Regions from separate parts of the Homo sapiens genome. Here regions 2, 3 and 4 are each linked to region 1. Evidence: promoter capture Hi-C in human tissues and cell types (Jung and others, 2019). All regions are on one chromosome and are shown on one strand. The core of a region is centred on a gene start or on the middle of the fragment in contact, and the rest is flanking DNA. Distances in the headings are between cores, read along the strand shown.

Region 1 (4,303 bases), core at 1,232-3,731:
CAACAGAGCGAGACTCCGTCTCAAAAAAAAAAAAATTATTTTTCCCAAAGTAGAGGCAGGGTCACACACTCGGGTATTTAAATTCTCTGGGAAAACCAGTGGGGTCCTGGTGAGCATCAGGAAATTCCTTGATTATACTTTTAAGTTCTACCTTTGACCATAACTCATGAACTAGGGCACATAGTTGTCCCCTATGAGAGACACTGGCTGTTTGAGCAATGGCCCCAAAACAGGAGGAGGAGGAGGAAGAAAGGTGGGTCTGGGCGAGGTAATTCAGACAACAAAGGATAAAGAGAAGGAGCTGAGGGAGGAGGGGGAGAAATTTCAGTAGTCTTTTTTAAATTCAGAAATTATTTTAGATAATTTTTGTTTTTCTCTCATAAATACCTTTATTAGAACTTCTTTTGGATGCTTCCAACTACCATAAAAAATAACTCTCCCAAAGATTCCGTTTTATCCTAGAGCCAGCGTTTTCCAATTGAGCAAACAAGTAAATTACCTTGGTGTTCCAATGGTACCCGGCTTTGGTCACTGAAATGTTTTTTCTCAAGTTACGTGAGACCATTTTTCTAAATATAACGAGAGGTGGCACCATAAGCACTGCACAGGAAACCAGCTGGAGTTTCCAAAGATGGGTCCTCCCTGAAGGAGAAAGACTTGTTTTGGATGGACGATTGCCTATGAGTTCTCTTAAGTGACAAAAGACTGTAAGGGAAAATCTGGTTACTCAAGAAGAAAGTTTAGACATGTCAAATTGAACTCAGCTCCAGAGCCTGGCCAGTTTTAAGGATTACAAATTTTGCTTAAGCCACGATTCGCTGCTTCTTTTCAAAGAGAAACTGCTTTCCCCTTCTCCAAATCTGAAGGACAAAAAAGGTTGCAAACTTTAGCAAGACGAACAAAACCTTAACCTCGAAGGATAGTGTTAACCACACACCTGCAAACAGCTGACTCTTTGGAGAAATAACAAACGAAACTCTTGCCTTAAAACCAAGCCTCAACTCCAGCCCTATCAGGTGTGGACCTGGGTAGGCGGAACAGAGTCTGAACCTCAGCCCTGGGAGGCTGCCAGAGACCCCGGCCAGGTTCCCAGGCGGTCCGGTGAACCAAGGCCGCTCCGCGGGTGCCAGCGCTCCGAGTGCCAGAGAAGTGGCTCGGATCACAAGAGGCTGGCTTCGGAGCCATCTGCAGGCGCCCAAATCCCAACCTAAAATCACCACAGGGTCAGAATCTAATGTAAGGGGGGGTTATTCAAAGGCAGTTGGAGGCTGGCCCACCCGGAAACACCGGCTCCAGAGGAATGGAGTCCGCCCTCGGAAGCGGGGAGGGGAAGGGTGCCCTCGGGCAGGCAGAGGCGGAGGCTTTTAGCAGGACCGCGGCGTCCTTCCTACGAGGTGGGCGCAGTCCTCGCGTTTGATGGACGACGGGCAGTGCCTGCTTCAGGGAAGGGTGCGGCAGTCACGGTTTCCCGTCTTCTGGTCTAAGCAGTGCAGAAAACAGGGAAGTTCATCTACAAGGGTCATGAACTAAGAAGGCAGGAGGTTTCTGTCCCCGGCACCGGCGAATCCCGGACCCGAGAAAGGAGCTACGGGCGCACAGAAGCGGGCGGCCCCGGCTCTCGCGGGGCTTAAAGCGCGCAGTGTGTTCGGGTTCACACCTCTAAATGTATTTTTGCCATTTCTTAAGTAGCCTTAAAAATGTCCGTCACTATTTAGTCCTTTTATCAACCGAGGGGCCCGGAAGGCCGCAGCGAGGGCGTCGGCGAGAAGCCATGGAGGAGAAACGGCGCTTCTCTCGGGAGTTTAGGTGGCAGCTTCAGCAGCACACGTTTCAGCCCATTCTGGGGCCGTTTCTAGTGTGGTTAACGTACAAAAATAAACAAATCCCCTAAAAGTCCCACGCGGACATCGGCGGGAGCCCAGGGCCGGACGCCGCGGTGTGGAGCGAGGGCGCCGGCGCGGACTATGAGGGCCCACCGCGCCTCGTCCAGGGCTCACTTAAGAGCAGCGTGAGCAGCGCTTGGGACCGCCGTCCGGGACGCCCGCAGCCCTTTAGGATGGAGGCCACCGTGACCTCCGCCACCGAAGCACCGCGCTCCCCTAGTCCCCTCAGCCGGTCGCCGTTCCCCGCCGCGCAGGCGCAGGAGCCGCGGCGAGCCCCTCGGTCACGCCTCGCCCCTCGGTCACGCCTCGCCCCTCGGTCACGCCTCGCCCCTCGGTCACGCCTCGCCCCTCGGTCACGCCTCGCCCCTCGGTCACGCCTCGCCCATCCGCGCCGCGCAGGCGCACTGAGCCTCAGCCGCTCTCCTCGCTACCAGGCTCCTTTCCTCTATCGCGCAGGCGCACTGAACCTCAGCCGCGCCGGGAGGCGAGCCCGTTGGCGAGGGGCGGGGCAGATGGCGAGGGAGCGGGGCGAGCTGCTTTTTGAGGCTGCGCACTCGCATGGCCCCACCTCGCAGGTCCACTTCCGGCGCCGCGGCTGTTCCGGGCGGAGACCGCTTGTGCTGGAGTCGGAGTTGTAACGCTCCACTGACTGATAGAGCGACCGGCCGACCATGGCGCCCGGAGTGGCCCGCGGGCCGACGCCGTACTGGAGGTTGCGCCTCGGTGGCGCCGCGCTGCTCCTGCTGCTCATCCCGGTGGCCGCCGCGCAGGAGCCTCCCGGAGCTGGTGAGGGCGCCGGGGCGGGCGGGGCCGCGAAGGGGGCGGGGCGGCTGGTGGGTCCAGGTCGGGGTCGGGGTCGGGGTTTCGGCCAGGGCGCTGGGCTCGGCGGGCGGCCTGGGCCCACGGTCGCAGGCAGCGCCCCGACGGAGGCTCCTCGAGGGTCACGCCCGTTTGGCGGCCGCGGGAGCTGCCGTCGCGGCTGGGGCGCGGGCAGGGGAAGAGCCGTCTTTGTCTTTGTCTTTGTTTTGTCCAGTCGCTGCGGCCGCTCCTCGCGCGTGGCCTCGGGTTGGCCCTCGCCCGGCAGGCGGGACGCTTGGCACCTGCGGCCTCCCTTAGCCTCACTGCGACCCCAAACAGCACTCCTCGGGTTCGATCCCGAGCCGGGAAGCCGGCTCACGACGTGTTCGAGGTCGCACAGCTGGTCGGGGGCAGGCCGGGATGGCGGCCGCAGGCCCCTGCAGGGTGATGGGGCCGCGGCCGGTGTGTCTCTACAGCCGCCGGCGTTCACGCCGCCACTCCCTCCCGGCCGCAGTTCCACGCACAGCAGCGAACGCTCGCACTTATGCCTTAGAAAGGAAGGCGTCCCCAAAGCCAGGCTGTAGCATCTGATTTTGAAGCAAGCTGATTGCGGTTCTACGCTGTCCAGACGCGCAGGTGGCATTCTTCATCGTTTATCCCGTCTGCACCAGGCCCTGCGGCCACAGTGGTGACCGACAGCCAGAGCTCCTATCCAAGAGGAGCTGAGTCCCCGGGAGGCTGACCAAGAAAGAAGCAGTGAGGGCGCGGGGGCTGGGGGAGGAAAGTGCATGACAGGAGACTCAGAGTTCCAGAAACCGGCAGTGTTTATAGAGGGTGGCTTCCTGTGGGGCTGGGCCTCCAGGGCCTGGTGGGCTGCGGGAAAATCCAGCAGGTTCTAAGCTGGAGAGTGTCATGGTTGGACCTGTTTCACAATGTCATGCTGGCTTCCGTGTGTGGAGTTTCCAGGTGACCACTAGTGGTGGGGAATAGTGCCACCTTAACTTCAGTTTCCTGACCCTTACAATTAGGGTTGACCTGGGCCCAGCTTGAGGGGCTAATACTTTTCTCAGCTCTTGTTAGCCCAGGCTCTGTCAGTGTCTGTTTAGCATAGTAGAGCACCTTTTCTTTTTGTGACCTTATGGAATGTTTATTCCGATGCAGGATTATTTGTGTTTCTTCTTACCTGCCTCCAAGTGTGCTTAGGGTTTGTGACGTTAGCAATGCAGCTGCCTTGAAGTTTGTTAGTCAAGGAGGCCAGTGGGACTGTACTGGGAACTTTTGGCCCAGATTGAGTTCTAAGCGCAAATGTGCAGTGAATACGTTTCCACAAACAGAATGGGCGTCTGCAGGCAGAGTGTGTGATTCACTGGCAACTGTATCAGTGGCTCGGGGGTGTGTTTGCTTGCATTGTGAAAGCGGGAGTGTCAGGAAAACAACCATGAGGTTTTGTTTGACTGTGATTCCTCCTGCTCTGCACTGCTGAAGGGTGCAGAGATGGGTGTGGACGAGTGGAGTGGACAGTGTGGGAATTAATCCGGAACTGCCATTCGGTGTGTCAGCTGAAAAGCCATTCGGTGTGTCTGCACTTGGAGGCTGCACTTGCTTGCTTCCACTTATGGTAA
Region 2 (4,303 bases), core at 1,197-3,696, 250 kb after region 1:
CGAATTCACATGTTGAAGTCCTAAGTTAAGGTCCTATGGATGGGCCCTAATCCAATGACTGGTGTCCTCTTGAGAAGAGGAGATGAGGGCAGAGACACACACAGAGGGACAGCCCCGTAAGGACACAGGGAGAAGACTGTGTCTGCAAGCCCAAGAGAGAGTCTTCGGGAACCAGCCCTGCCACACCTGGGCCTCAATTTCCAGCCCCAGGACTGTGAGGGACCCCATGTATGTGGCTCGAGCCCCCAGTCCGTGGACTTTGTCACAGCAGCCTGAGCTGACACATGCAGCTCCTCTCAGGTGTGGGGGTCCTTTGTGCCCACAGGGTATGGCCGAGGCCCCCAAACCCGACTATGCTCTCCTAAGGCGAGAAGAGTGGGCGGCATCGCAGCCCCGGGTCACCAGTGTGGGGGGTGTGGGTGAGGACTGGAGGGGACAGTGTGGCTCTGGCCATCTGCCTGTCTCCCATGGCAGGAGCTAAGAAACTACCCCCAGGAGGCCTCCTTCCTGCTGTCTGGTCTGGACACATTCCCACACTGTCCTGGGACTCCTCTGTCATCGCCGCCCTGAGACCTTCCTGTTCCCACCGGCCCTCCACCCACCCAGCCCAGCACAGGGAGCTCTGGAGACCACGTGTCTGTTCTCTGCTCTGCATCCCAGCGGCAAGCCCAGGGCTGGAGCAGGGGCCATCCCTGAGCGTCTGTGAGTGTCCACAGGAGGCCAGGATGGCCAAGCTCTCTCCGAGTGGAACTCCTGAGTGCTGGGACAGCTGGAGCCCAAGTCTCCACACCCACCCCCCACCGCCCGTCTCCCACCTCCCAGCACAGCTGGGGCCTGCCACCCCCCGGGACAGCCCCAACCCTTGCCATGGGAAGGAGCTGCTTCTACCCACAGTGAGTGGGGCATTAGCCTGAGTCACGTGGTGTCTGTGGGACTCAGCCAGTGAACAAGGCTTTTGGGCCCCACAGGACCTGGGAGGGGAGCCGGACAGCAGAACGTGCCACGAGGTGGACAGGAGCTTCCAGGTGTCACACAAGAGCCCCCCGAGGCCCCCCAGCTGGGGAAGTAAAGAGATCCACGGGGCCCAGCCCCCCAGAGCCAGGCCAGGCCCCACTCTGCCCCCTCCCGCCCTGGGTGCGGAGAGTCAGCACGGAGTCAGCTGGGGCCGCAGACGCTTTATTGGTGCTCAGGGGCAGAGGGTGACGCTGCTGGGGGTGAGACCCGGGTCAGGAGGGCCCGTCCCCAACCAGCGACCAGCGGAGGGTTGTGGTCTGCAGCCAGGAAGCACCGTGAGGAGAAGCCAGGGCTCGCCTGCCCGGGGGGGAGGTCAGGGAGGAGCCAGTGAGCATCTGAGACCCCGGGGCTGGGCGGCTGTGGCTGGGGCTGCTCCTTCTGTGTTGAGCTGTGCTGAGGCTGGGTGGGCTGGGAGGTCCAAGGACTGGCAGGGAGGTGGGGCCTGAGCCCGGCTGGCCCTGGGGGACATGACCGTCAGCAGCTGGACTTCTGGCCTGAGGAGAAGCTGTAGCAGGCCGGGCGGGAGCACACAGGGCGGCAGAGAAGGGACACACAGGAGGCCTGGCGGCAATAGCTGGGCTGGCGGGAGGAGGTGGGGGCACAGCAGGAGGAGACGGGCACGCAGCAGGCGGGCCTGCACACAGGGCGGCAGAGGAGGGACACAGAGGAGGAGGGTCTGCAGCAGGAGGTGGTGCAGCAAGCCGGCTGGCAGCCAGACTGCTGGCAGCACAAAGAGGAAGCCCCAGAGCAGACAGGCACACAGCAGATGGGTTTGCAGCAGACAGGCTTACAGCAGACAGGCACACAGTAGGACTGCTGGCAGGGGGAGGAAGTGCAGCAAGCTGGCTGGCAGCTAGACTGTTGGCAGCATGAATAGGAATCCTCAGAGCAGGTGGGCGCACAGCACACAGGTTTGCAGCAGACGGGCACACAGCAGGCCGGCTGGCAGGAGGAAGAGGCACAGCAAGCTGGCTGGTAGCTAGACTGTTGGCAGCACGAAGAAGCCCCACAGCAGACGGGCACGCAGCACACAGGCTTGCAGCAGACGGGCACGCAGCAGGCCTGCTGGCAGGGGGAGGAGGTGCAGTAAGCCGGCTGGCAGCTAGACTGCTGGCAGCACGAGGGCGTGCAGGAGCTGGTGCAGCCTGATTGGCAGGGGCTGGGCTCACAGGTCACCTGGCAGCAGGGGCTGGATACACGGCTCACTGGGGTGCAGACCAGGGTCAGGCAGGGGGCCGGGGCGCAGCAGCTGGTGGCGCAGCAGGGGGGCTCACAGCAGCTCTCTGGGCAGTCGTCCACCTGCCAGGAGTCGGAGTAAGCGCTGGAGCGGATGGACATGGTGGACGCGGCCATGCTGGGGTGGGGAGGAGGTGAGCTGGGGGAGGTGTAAGTGAGTGTGTGAGTGTGTCAGTGAGTGAGTTTGTGAGTGTGTGAGGTTCTTGGGGCTCTCAGGCTTTTATACCCCTCCTGGCCTTGTTGTTCCAGGGCCCACAGCTTCCCCTTCCTTGTTGCTGAGAGGCGGCGTCTGCCATGATTAGGGATGTTTGTTTGCTGGTGACATTGCCCAGCTCACAAATCTCCTGTCACACCTGGGCTATAGTCTGTTGCATGTGGAACCTCAGGGGCAGGAGTTGGGGTGGGCCTGATCCCAGCTGGGTTCTGGAGGCAAGGACGGCTGTGGGCGTCTGGTGGGTGGGATGTGGGTGGGATGTGCCTGGGGCCATCTTTGGTTGCTGGGGCATCGTCCAGCCACTGGCCCCAGCAGCCTCAGGACACGGGCTTCCTCTGCAGGAAGCCGGCCCTTAGGAATTATTTCCTGTGGTGCAAACTCCTCCTCTAGTATGGTCCTTCCCCTGCTGTAGGACACAGGACTCGCCAATTTCTAATCCCCATGGCCTCTGTGCCTCCTGCCCTCTGTTCATTGCCCACCCTGTCCTTTGCTTGGGAGGCAGCAGGACTCTGTTCCAGGGCAGGGATCGTGGGCTCAGCCCACTCCTTGCTGAGGCACAATGGCAGCATCGTGGGCTGTGGTTTCGGGTTCTGAACCCGTGAAGTAGCTGTGCTAGGCAGCAGGCAGCCGCCAGCCCTCGCCACTGCTGGAGCCATCTCCTCCGTGTGCCCTGCACTGCAAGCATCTTTTTCTCACCAGCCCTGCCCACAGGCCCCATCACACACCCCCAGGTCAGCCACAGGCAACTCTCACGGCTGCATGATCTTTGATGATGAATTGTTATCACCACAGGGCATGATGAAGTCCCGAGCTTCTTGCCTTATAAAATGGCCCTGATCACTTTCCAGGAACATTGCTACCCAGCAGCTAATTATAATATTGATTGTGATTTCACATTTTTATTTAAAAATTCAAGTACACATACGCATATTTCATTATAAAGTAAGACGTATTACACGATGTTGAGTAGAACGTCTTTGTTGCTGTGAATCTGGCAAAGCTGGAAACGGCCTCTCATTCTAAAAATAATGCTAACATTCTGGGTCAGACCTGTCCCCACAGGGTTTCTAAAATAAGACAGAAGTTGACCAGCTATGGCCAGCTGCCACACCCCACCAGTGCTGCCCAGGTTGTAAGAAGGAGGCTGTGGAGGCAGGGGTGGCCCTTCAGTCTTACGCAAAGTGTGGTGTCCCAGGGAGAGAGTCCTCCAGCTACTGTCCCTGGGGGTGTCTCTAAAGTGGGTCCTCACTGAAGAGGCAGAAGCAGCTGGTAGAAGCACAGGATCACTGGAGCAGCCGGAGAGAAGGTGCAGCAGTGGCCAGTGAGCCCCACAGTGGTGGCCCTGCACATTCCTTCCCCCGTCCCCATCACTGAAGAAATTAGAGCCCAAAACAGGGAGAAGGGGAGCAAGGAAAGAGAGGCCATGCCGCTCCCCGCGGCCTTCCCCGAGGTCCACTCAGACTTGCATGTGGGAACGCTGGGGATAGGACTGGGTTTCAGACAGGATAGAAAAGTTTTGAACTGGTCCATTTTGGGCTATGGATTTGGTTCTGCTCTTTCAGGCCATAGCTTTATGATACGCTTCAATCATAGATAATTCAAGTCCCATTATCAATATTTCTTTTTGTAAAAAAAAATTTTTTTTGTAGAGACCAGAGTCTTGCTATGTTGCCCAGCTGGTCTTGAACTCCTGGGCTCAAGTGATCCTCCTGCCTTGGCCTCCCAAATTGCTGGGACTACAGGCGTAAGCCACCGTGCGTGGCCCATCATCAGTATTTCTGTGCCAAGTCTCCTAACTTTTCATGCTCATTTTCTTTGCTGTGCTCAGCTCCCATTCTT
Region 3 (4,303 bases), core at 1,338-3,837, 240 kb before region 1:
GTGGCTATAAAAGGAAGCAGCATGTGAAAGCACTGGCTGAATAAAGGAAAAGCACAAAGCTTACACATACCGTTCCAGCGAACAAAAAAACAGGGAACATCCCCCACTCGTTTTACGAGCCCAGTATAATCTCGGTAGTAAAATCTGTCAAGAATGTGCCAGACATGAACTATCAGCGGCTTTTACAAATGTAGACACAAAAATCATAACAAAATTAGCATATTTAAATCCAGGGACATATAAAAGACAGTAGGTCACACCTGAGTTGAATACACACATACCAAGAATACACAGCTGGCTTCAGATGTGAGAATCGATCAACGCACTGAACAGCGACATTTCTATTCAAGGGTTCTTTAACTTAGATTTCTCAATCATTCAAACTGGTATTTTTGTAAATTTCCATTAGTAGAATAAACCTCACGCTGTTCTCAAAATATACACTACCTGTGGAAGATAAAAAAATGGAGGATAAAGAAAGCTGATAAAATGAAAACAAACATTGTCGCCAATAATGAAAGTAAAGGCCCAGCACACACAGCTTCTCCACATTCCTGCCCTTGCTGGAGGAAGACAATAAGCTCGGAAGTTGCCCCCAGAGCAATGCGGTGGCAGGGGTGGTGTCCTCAGAGGGTCCTAGTGTGTCCGTGATAAGGCCATCATGAACAGAACCAAAGAAGGCAAAAGGGAGACATCTGGCCTTCGCAGGCTTCCTTAGAGTGTTTTCCACACCTGTGAGGATCCTGAGCGAGTGCCAGGAGGAGACGGAAGAAGTGCAGCTTCACACTCCTCTCCAGAGCAGGCATTCAATCGACAGTTCACGAATGGGCTTCAGGAAGACAATGAGAAGTGTGAAATCATATATGAAATGATGCGTTCATATGCACAGATGAATTTTTCTAACGAAAATGTAAATGGATTTAATCAGATATTCAAAAGAACCCAATACCCCACAAGTGTGCCAACATCTGACATGCAAACTTGTCCGTGCGGTAGAGGCCAAAGACAGCCCTCACCATGGGCTGTGAGATGACCCAAAACCCAATCCTTTCTTTGGCACTTCACCAACAAAATTTCATAGCCTTTCTTTTCTCAGTGCAACTAAGGGCTAGTCCATGGTAACCTACGAAGTGAATTATTACGGGGCACTAAAATTTAAGATTTATAACCTAAACCTGAGGTGTTACTAGGCTTTATAGAGGTCTAGTTCAGTATCAAGAAGGGAGGCTCCTGTGCAGAGCTGCAAAGCTTGGTAATGCGCCCACGTGGGGGCCACAAAGTCCTCATCCTCAGAAACAGCATTTCGTGCGTTACCAATGACAGCTTTATTTATAATGGATTTCAATTACCAACACTCTTGCTTTTATCATTTCGATGTCCATTTTCTCATGTTCACAGCAGTTTAATGTGGGCTGTCTGGGTATATACCACGATGACAATTCATAGTTTCAGGAGCCATGATTTTTCAACAACTTATAAGTACCCTAAGTCATCTCCGTCTTTATTTCGAAACAGATGTATAGAACCTCCTCTAAATTCTGATGCAGCAGTAACATTTTATTTGTTGGTGATGTGCTGATTAAGAGTATATGAAATTTAACTAACTTGCAACACACCATCAAGGCAAGTGTAACAAAGTTACCCAGCTATTTTTAAGTTTATGGCCACACTCTTACATAGTAAAGAACAACACGTCTCATAAGAACTTCTGTATCAAAAGTACCTAAACTGGTTCATTTAATTTCATCCCGATTCTTTGATAATGTTGAGTGATATTTCCACTGGAGAGCAAGAACAGCTACTGGTAAAGGTGACCAAGGCACTAATTTTGCCACTGAGAGTGATCTAAAAAGGCTTTTAGGCTAGGCACAGTGGTGTGCTCAGCACTTTGGGAGGCCAAGGTGGGAGGATGGCTTGAGCCTAGGAGTTCGAGACCAGTCTGGGCAACACGGCAAGACCCCACCTCTACAAAAAATTTAAAAATTAATCAGTCAATGTGGCACGTGACTGTGGTCCAAGCTACTCAAGAGGCTGATAACAGGAGTATTGCTTGAGCCCAGAAGGTGGAGGCTGCAGTGAGCCACGATCACACTACTGCACTTCACCCTGGGTGACAGAGCGAGACCCTGCCTCTAAATTAATTAATTAAAAGGGCTTTTAATTAAAAATGGTGATAAAGTACACCATATCTTCTCTCCATTCTTCCCAGAGCTCTGTTAAAATGTCAGAAAAGGTACTTTTTGGTGGTGAATGAACCATAATAGTGCACGGTGCTAAAAATTTACAGAGGGATTTAGCAGAACACAAGAAAGCCTGCCAGGGCTTTTAGGGCATAAGGCAGACGAAAGCAGGTTGATGCGAGAGAGCAGAGGAAACTGCAGAGCAAGACAACAGAGGTGAGGGGTCTTCCCAAGAAGCAGGAGCCATAGGGAACGCTTTTATTCCTGGGCTGAAACCTGAGAATCGCTCTCCAAAGAAAGCCTGAGGTTTTCTAAGGGGTGATCCCAATATGGGCACGCGGGCTGGAAGAGAAGCAGATCCGGGTTTAGGGTAACGAAAAATCAAACCGTCAGGACATGAAGCCCAGGGAGGGAGAGAAGGAGAGAGTAGAAGATGTTTACCTGCAGTAGAACAAGGATCAAACGGATATCCAACTTCTCATTACCAACACTAGACTCTGGAAAATAATAGAGAATATTTTCTGATTTCAAAAGGAAAATTATACGATCCTAGAATTCTAGACCCTACCAAATTATCAATAAGTATGAGAACAAAGTAATTGCATGTTTGAACATTACGTGCAAAAACCCAAGAAGTCTGTCAGCCATCCATTCTATAAGGAAGTGAATTAAGAAGTCTGTCAGCCATCCATTCTATAAGGAAGTGAATTAAGAAGTCTGTCAGCCATCCATTCTATAAGGAAGTGGATTAAGGAGGTGCTCCAGCAAAACAAAAATAGAATCCAAGAAACCAACACCATGGGATAGGAGAAACCATGGCAACTGAGGCAGCTAGAAACAGCGGACACCTAAAGAGAAACTGGGAGTTCCATCTGAATATTCTCCTTTTATTGGCAAAGGTTTGGTGAGGCAGAATTACATTTCATACCACTTGGTTCTATGGCAAAATATACTATCATAATACTATAAATGTTACTTTTCTTATATTAAAATGTTTAGACTACACTTGCAGGAAAAGCACAGGGAGCCTAATGATAGATGGGAAACACTACAAATGTTTTAAGCCTTGTCAATATAAATCTCATCAAAACTCAGAGTGTGAAGGCACTGTTGACTTCCACATGAACTCACAAACAGAAAAGTTAAAGCTATAATGGTGACTACAAGAAGAACTTAAGAGAAGAAAACACAAACTGTACATTGTTTACCTCTGGAAACGGGGCATGGGGTGGGGAGGGAGAAAGAGGAAATCTCCAACTTAATTTATACCCATTCATGAGCTGCAATGTGTTTTTTACCATGTGCTGGTATTACTTCCATTTTTTAAAATAGTTACATTAAAAGGGCCCCCTTATCAATAGCTGATCCATTAAATAACTGCAGTACATCTATAGGACAGAATAATATGTTCTTGTAACAAGTGAAGTAGCATGAGCATTGCGTTAGTTATATAAAGTCAGAATTTTAAAGAAGCTTTTTTTTTTTTAACTGTGAAAGAACAAAGATAAAGTGTCACAGTCCTACGAAGAGAACGGCACTACCTGTACTGACATGCAGGATGTGACGGGACAGCTGCGTTATAGAGAGATGTGCACAGAAAACCCCTGTGTATCTCAGAAATCCCATATACATAACAGAAACTCCTCATCTATTATATATGCCAGAATCCAGTGCTGACACAAACTAGTGGGTACGTACCCTTCCATATTTTTCCTATGTACACACACACAACATTTTGTAAGCCTAAAAAGCTGGCACAAAAAGCAAACCAACTTCACAAGGACAAGCCAGAGAGTCCTTGGGGGATGTCCTCCCAGGAAACTCAAAACAGCAGCGGCTAGGTCTCCCTGGAGAAGGAGGCTGGGAAGAGCATCTGATAGAACTGCTCCCTTCATCCTTCGAGGGAGCAATCCAGGAAATGCAAGGCTGTCTACTTCACATGGTTTCCTGAGGATATGGGTAGAAAACATTTCCAGTAAAAGCTTTACTAAAATGTTATACAGTGAAAATTAAAATACAAACCATTCCTCCATGCGCCAGTGTCATCTGCTAATTTGTACAACATCTTGTTTCAATGACCTGAGAGGCCTACACAAATAGGTAGAGTAACCACAGTATATCAA
Region 4 (4,303 bases), core at 1,121-3,620, 230 kb before region 1:
TACAATGTAATCATGGAAAGAAAATGCACAATAAATGTAACGCGCTGGAATCATCCCCAAACCATTCTCCCAGCCCCCACCTCGGCCCATGGAAAAATTGTCACCAGTCCCTGGTGCCAAAAAGGTTGAGGACTGCTGGTTTAACGGACCAGTATTAATTAACACATTGTTATTAACTGAAATCCACACTTTCGTCAGATTCAGTCGTCCAGGATCCCACGTGACATTGAGATGTCATGGCTCCCTAGGCCCCTCTTGGCTGTGAGTTTCTCAGACTCTTCTTGGTTTTTGACTGTTGAGGAAGCTGTCCCTCAGCTGGGATCTGTCTGATGTTTTTCTCATGGTACAGGAAGGGACTGAGTTTGGGGATGAAGCCCCCAGAGGTGAAGGCCCACTGTCACTCCACTGTATCAGGCACACCCTGTCACCGTGACTGACCACTGTGAGGCTGACCTGGCCCCTGCTGGGTTGAGCCCCCCGCCCCACTTCCATGCTGTCCTCTCTGGAAGGAAGTTGCTCTGCACAGCCCTTGCCTTGGGGTAAGGGTTGTGCTCCACCTCCTGGAAGACACAGCAGATACAGCAGATGCAGAGATGATCTGGAATTGTGCTGGAAAAGGAGCTTTGTCTTTTCTCCTCATTTATCAGTCATTTATTTATGTCAGTCTGGACTCATGGATATTTATTTATCTCTGGGCTATAATCCAATACTACTTTGTTTTGTTGTAGAAACTGTTCCAGCTTTGGCCACTGGGAGCTCTTTCAGTTGGCTCCTGGGTCCCTTTGACACCACCCATTGATGTGGGTGTGGTTATGTTTGTTTCTCGGCATTTCCTTGCCATTTCCTTGGCATTCCTGGCACTTGTGTTATTTCCTGCCCAGTCCTAGAATCAGCTATTTCTCCAATAAAGAATGCTCACTCTATTTTTTATATGCTGTTTTATGGAACATGCAGCTACATGTTTAAAAAATATAGTTGTGGTTACAGCTGGTTTTGCTGACTTGAATCCATCCCCTTCTTTCTGACAACAGCACCCCAAATGTGCTGAGGAAAGTGCCTTCTCCCATTGAACTGCCTGCGTAATTACTTCCAAGAAATCAAAAATTATTTTAAACCCTTGTGCTGATAACAGACAGACACCAAGGTAAGGAAGATAATTATAGAAATTCTGATTTAGAATTAAAATAAGCACATTGGCCAGGCATGGTGGCTCACATCTGTAATCCCAGCAACTTGGGAGGCCGAAGAGGGAGGATCGCTTGACGCCAGGAGTTCAAGTCTAGCCTGGGCAACACAGCAAGACTCCGTCTCTACAAAAAATAAAAAAAGTTAGCTGGGTGTGGTAGTGCGCCTGTAGCCCCACAGTCCCAGCTACTCAGGAGGCTGAGGTGGGAGGATCACTTGAGCCTGGAAGTTGAGGCTGCAGTGAACCATGATTACCACTGCACTCCAGCCTGAGTAACAGAGTGAGACCCTGTCCCAAATAAATAAATAAGCACAAAATATGTTCACTTTAAAATAAACCATGTCTGGCAAAAGTATGTCCACCACTGTAACTACTGACCCCTTACACAATTTTAAGCAGCACTCATCTCCCACGTAATAGTCAGCAAGACTGGTGTGCTAACATACCCAGCATTCAAAAACTCCAAAAGCTTGTGTATTAAGTATACACTATCCAGAAAATTTCACATGCTTTCTGCTTCAGGAAAGAAATATTAAAGCTCTACGATGGTGAAGTTCATTACAATTTCCAAAAGCAAAAGGATCACTGATTACTTAAGAAGCAACGCTTCCTTTAAACTCCAGTACAGGAGGTAAATGTTAAACGCTAGCAAATCTTTTGAGAAGCATTAAAAAAGGTTTTCGTTACATCACAGGTATACTTAATCATAACGTCAAAGCCTCTAAAACAAAAACTCTGTGCACGCACTTCAGGAGTTTTTCCCACGTGCCGCGAAAGAAGGGAGCCTAGGTGTCTGGAGAGATCCTCTGCACCCAGCACTCGGCGACTGGCAGCGGGCATTTCAGCACCTGCTAAAGCCCGCTGGGCAGCTTGGCAGCGCCAGGCGCGGGGCTGCGGGGACACGGCCCGCCCGCGCGCAGGGCACAGCGAGCACGTGAGCGCAGAGCCAGCTCCGGAGCGCTACGGCGCGCGTGGCGGCACACCTGCTCCCCGAGGCTGATCGTTAACAGCCGTGGGCAGGGGTTGGGCCAGGGTACAGCTGTCAGGACCTCACTGGACAGGACCGGAGAGGACCCCGCGTAACCGCGGAACAGACACTCCCGGCAGCGGCCGCCGCCGCGGCACTGCTACGGGACGAGCCGGAGCGCTTGGCCATGGCGGCCCGATCCGCACTGGCGCTGCTGCTGCTGCTGCCAGTCCTGCTCCTGCCGGTGCAGAGCCGCTCAGAGCCCGAGACCACCGCGCCCACCCCTACCCCAATCCCGGGTGGCAACTCGTCAGTGAGCAGGCCCCTGCCCAGCATCGAGCTCCACGCCTGCGGCCCATACCCCAAACCAGGCCTGCTCATCCTGCTGGCCCCGCTGGCCCTGTGGCCCATTCTCCTGTAGGGACGCCCAGCCAGCCACCTCTAAGTCGCCGCTGGGACTGGCCTGCCCCATTGAGCAACAGAGACGCTTGACAGCCGCCCGCCTCCATTCCTTGACTTCACCCAGAAATGGGTCCAGAAAACTGAATCCCACCAGCACTGGTTTGGAGCAACCGGACACCGAGGTTTCACCTCCAGGGATTCCATGAAGAGCCTCAATGGAGATGCCACATCCTACTGAGTTAAAGATGGGCTGAGGAACTTGGGTACCCACAAGTCTGCCTTGGGAATCAAAAGAAAATATTTACCTTTAGTTTGGTTCATTAAATGCATGAAGTCAAAATATGACCAGGTAGTGTGCGAGGCCTCCTTGTTCTGGGTAGAGCTGGGAAGGGCAGGGATGGCAAGCGCTCCCTAAGTCTGCCACCTGTAGCCTTGCAGAGTTCTCTAGGAAATGCACTGCTGCTCTGGTGTTCAGTGCAATGCAGTATTTGACTTGGGAACAGTGACTGACGGGGGCCAGTGCAAGCCTAGTTAGTAAGCCCAGCCTGTCTACTCCACTCTCACCCACACATCCCCATTCTTCCAAAGAACCTTGTAGCTATCATTTCAACCTAGTTCCAAAGAGCAGACATACATAATCTCACATAACCTGCAATGCTGCTTTTTAAATTTCTGTATATGTTGAATAATTTTTACAAGTTAAAAGTGACCTTTTTAAACATATATTTTTAAATCTTTAACACGGGGGGAGAAAAAGGAAAGTTTTGGAAAGGGAAGACTAGAAGCTTGGCTGGTTCAGTTCACACAAGTTTTACACTATTTCTATCCATGTGTTATCTTTATAAATCCACATTTGGAATACTTCCCATATAAATATCTTTAGATAGAAACTGAGACTAAGCCTTGAGTAGCTTCTGGAAAGTAACCCCAACACCACCACCAAGTTGCACACACACCAATGTCCAGCATCTAGGAGGGCTTCAGGGCCCCCACAGCCCAAGACGTGCCAGCCCAAGAGAGCACTCCCAGAAACTCCAGATCCAGCCAGCCTCAGAACAGCATGTGAACACTTCACACGGGCTTACTGTGCATGTTTTGGATTGAGCCTTGTGTTCAGTAATTATGCTTGGATTTACATAACTTAAAATGACATATTTTAACATAAATTGTAAATTTTTATTTTTTATTTTTTTGAGACAGAGTCTCGCTCTGTCACCCAGGCTGGAGTGGTCCCCTCCCAAGGTTCAAGTGATTCTCATGTATCAGCCTCCTGCTCGCTGGGATCACAGGTGTGCGCCACCACACCCAGCTAATTTTTTTTGTACTTTTAGTAGAGATAGGGTTTCACCATGTTGGCCAGGCTGGTCTCAAACTCCTGACCTCAAGTGATCCACCCGCCTCGGCCTCCCAAAGCGCTGGGATTACAGGCGTGAGCCACCCACCGCGCCCAGCCTGTAAATTATTTTTTTAAAAAGGCTTGCAGAGCAATCCGAAGACCCTAATTTAACAGGCTGTATACTAGGCACTGAAGGATGATCAACTATAGCTTCATTAAAGGAATAATGAAATTGCTGCTCTCCCACAGGAAATTACAGTTCCCCGGTCACCAGCCCTACCACCACCCCCTCCTCAAGGAGAAATGTGGAATCAACAACCCTTAAGAGAAATCCTGAGAGGGAAGACATGCGTGAAAATCCCATTCAGGCTATGATCCACGGCTAAATTTCAGTCCCAAGCATCTATCACAT

The links. Contacts are between HindIII fragments. The study calls those that stand out against the background at their distance.
Region 2: a contact is called between the fragment with the promoter of KRTAP10-9 here and the fragment with the promoter of PTTG1IP in region 1, in 2 of the 25 tissues and cell types used here (liver and mesendoderm cells).
Region 3: a fragment that was not itself captured here is called in contact with the fragment with the promoter of PTTG1IP in region 1 in 3 of the 25 tissues and cell types used here (H1 embryonic stem cells, bladder and dorsolateral prefrontal cortex).
Region 4: a contact is called between a fragment that was not itself captured here and the fragment with the promoter of PTTG1IP in region 1, in 6 of the 25 tissues and cell types used here (IMR-90 fibroblasts, aorta, bladder and 3 more).

What each region holds. Positions count from the first base shown.
Region 1 is chr21:44,871,868-44,876,170 of GRCh38, reverse strand. It overlaps PTTG1IP (PTTG1 interacting protein), which reads left to right and starts at 2,481. Exons shown (of 6, transcript NM_004339.4): 1 at 2,481-2,669. The coding sequence starts at 2,555. RefSeq lists enhancers at 1,524-2,201, 2,359-2,859, 2,860-3,360 and a silencer at 2,118-2,767. The HindIII fragment of the contact is 14,261 bases long and covers 1-4,303 here.
Region 2 is chr21:44,625,236-44,629,538 of GRCh38, reverse strand. KRTAP10-9 (keratin associated protein 10-9) reads right to left here and starts at 2,446. Exons shown (of 1, transcript NM_198690.3): 1 at 1,161-2,446. The coding sequence starts at 2,367. The coding sequence ends at 1,489. The region is part of intron 1 of TSPEAR (thrombospondin type laminin G domain and EAR repeats); the gene reads left to right. RefSeq lists an enhancer at 2,826-3,521. The HindIII fragment of the contact is 22,066 bases long and covers 1-4,303 here.
Region 3 is chr21:45,116,938-45,121,240 of GRCh38, reverse strand. The region is part of intron 1 of ADARB1 (adenosine deaminase RNA specific B1); the gene reads right to left. Among named protein-coding and RNA genes, the nearest start is that of ADARB1, 45 kb to the right of the region's middle. The HindIII fragment of the contact is 3,865 bases long and covers 655-4,303 here.
Region 4 is chr21:45,099,084-45,103,386 of GRCh38, reverse strand. All of the region lies in intron 1 of ADARB1 (adenosine deaminase RNA specific B1), which reads right to left. Among named protein-coding and RNA genes, the nearest start is that of ADARB1, 27 kb to the right of the region's middle. The HindIII fragment of the contact is 4,715 bases long and covers 13-4,303 here.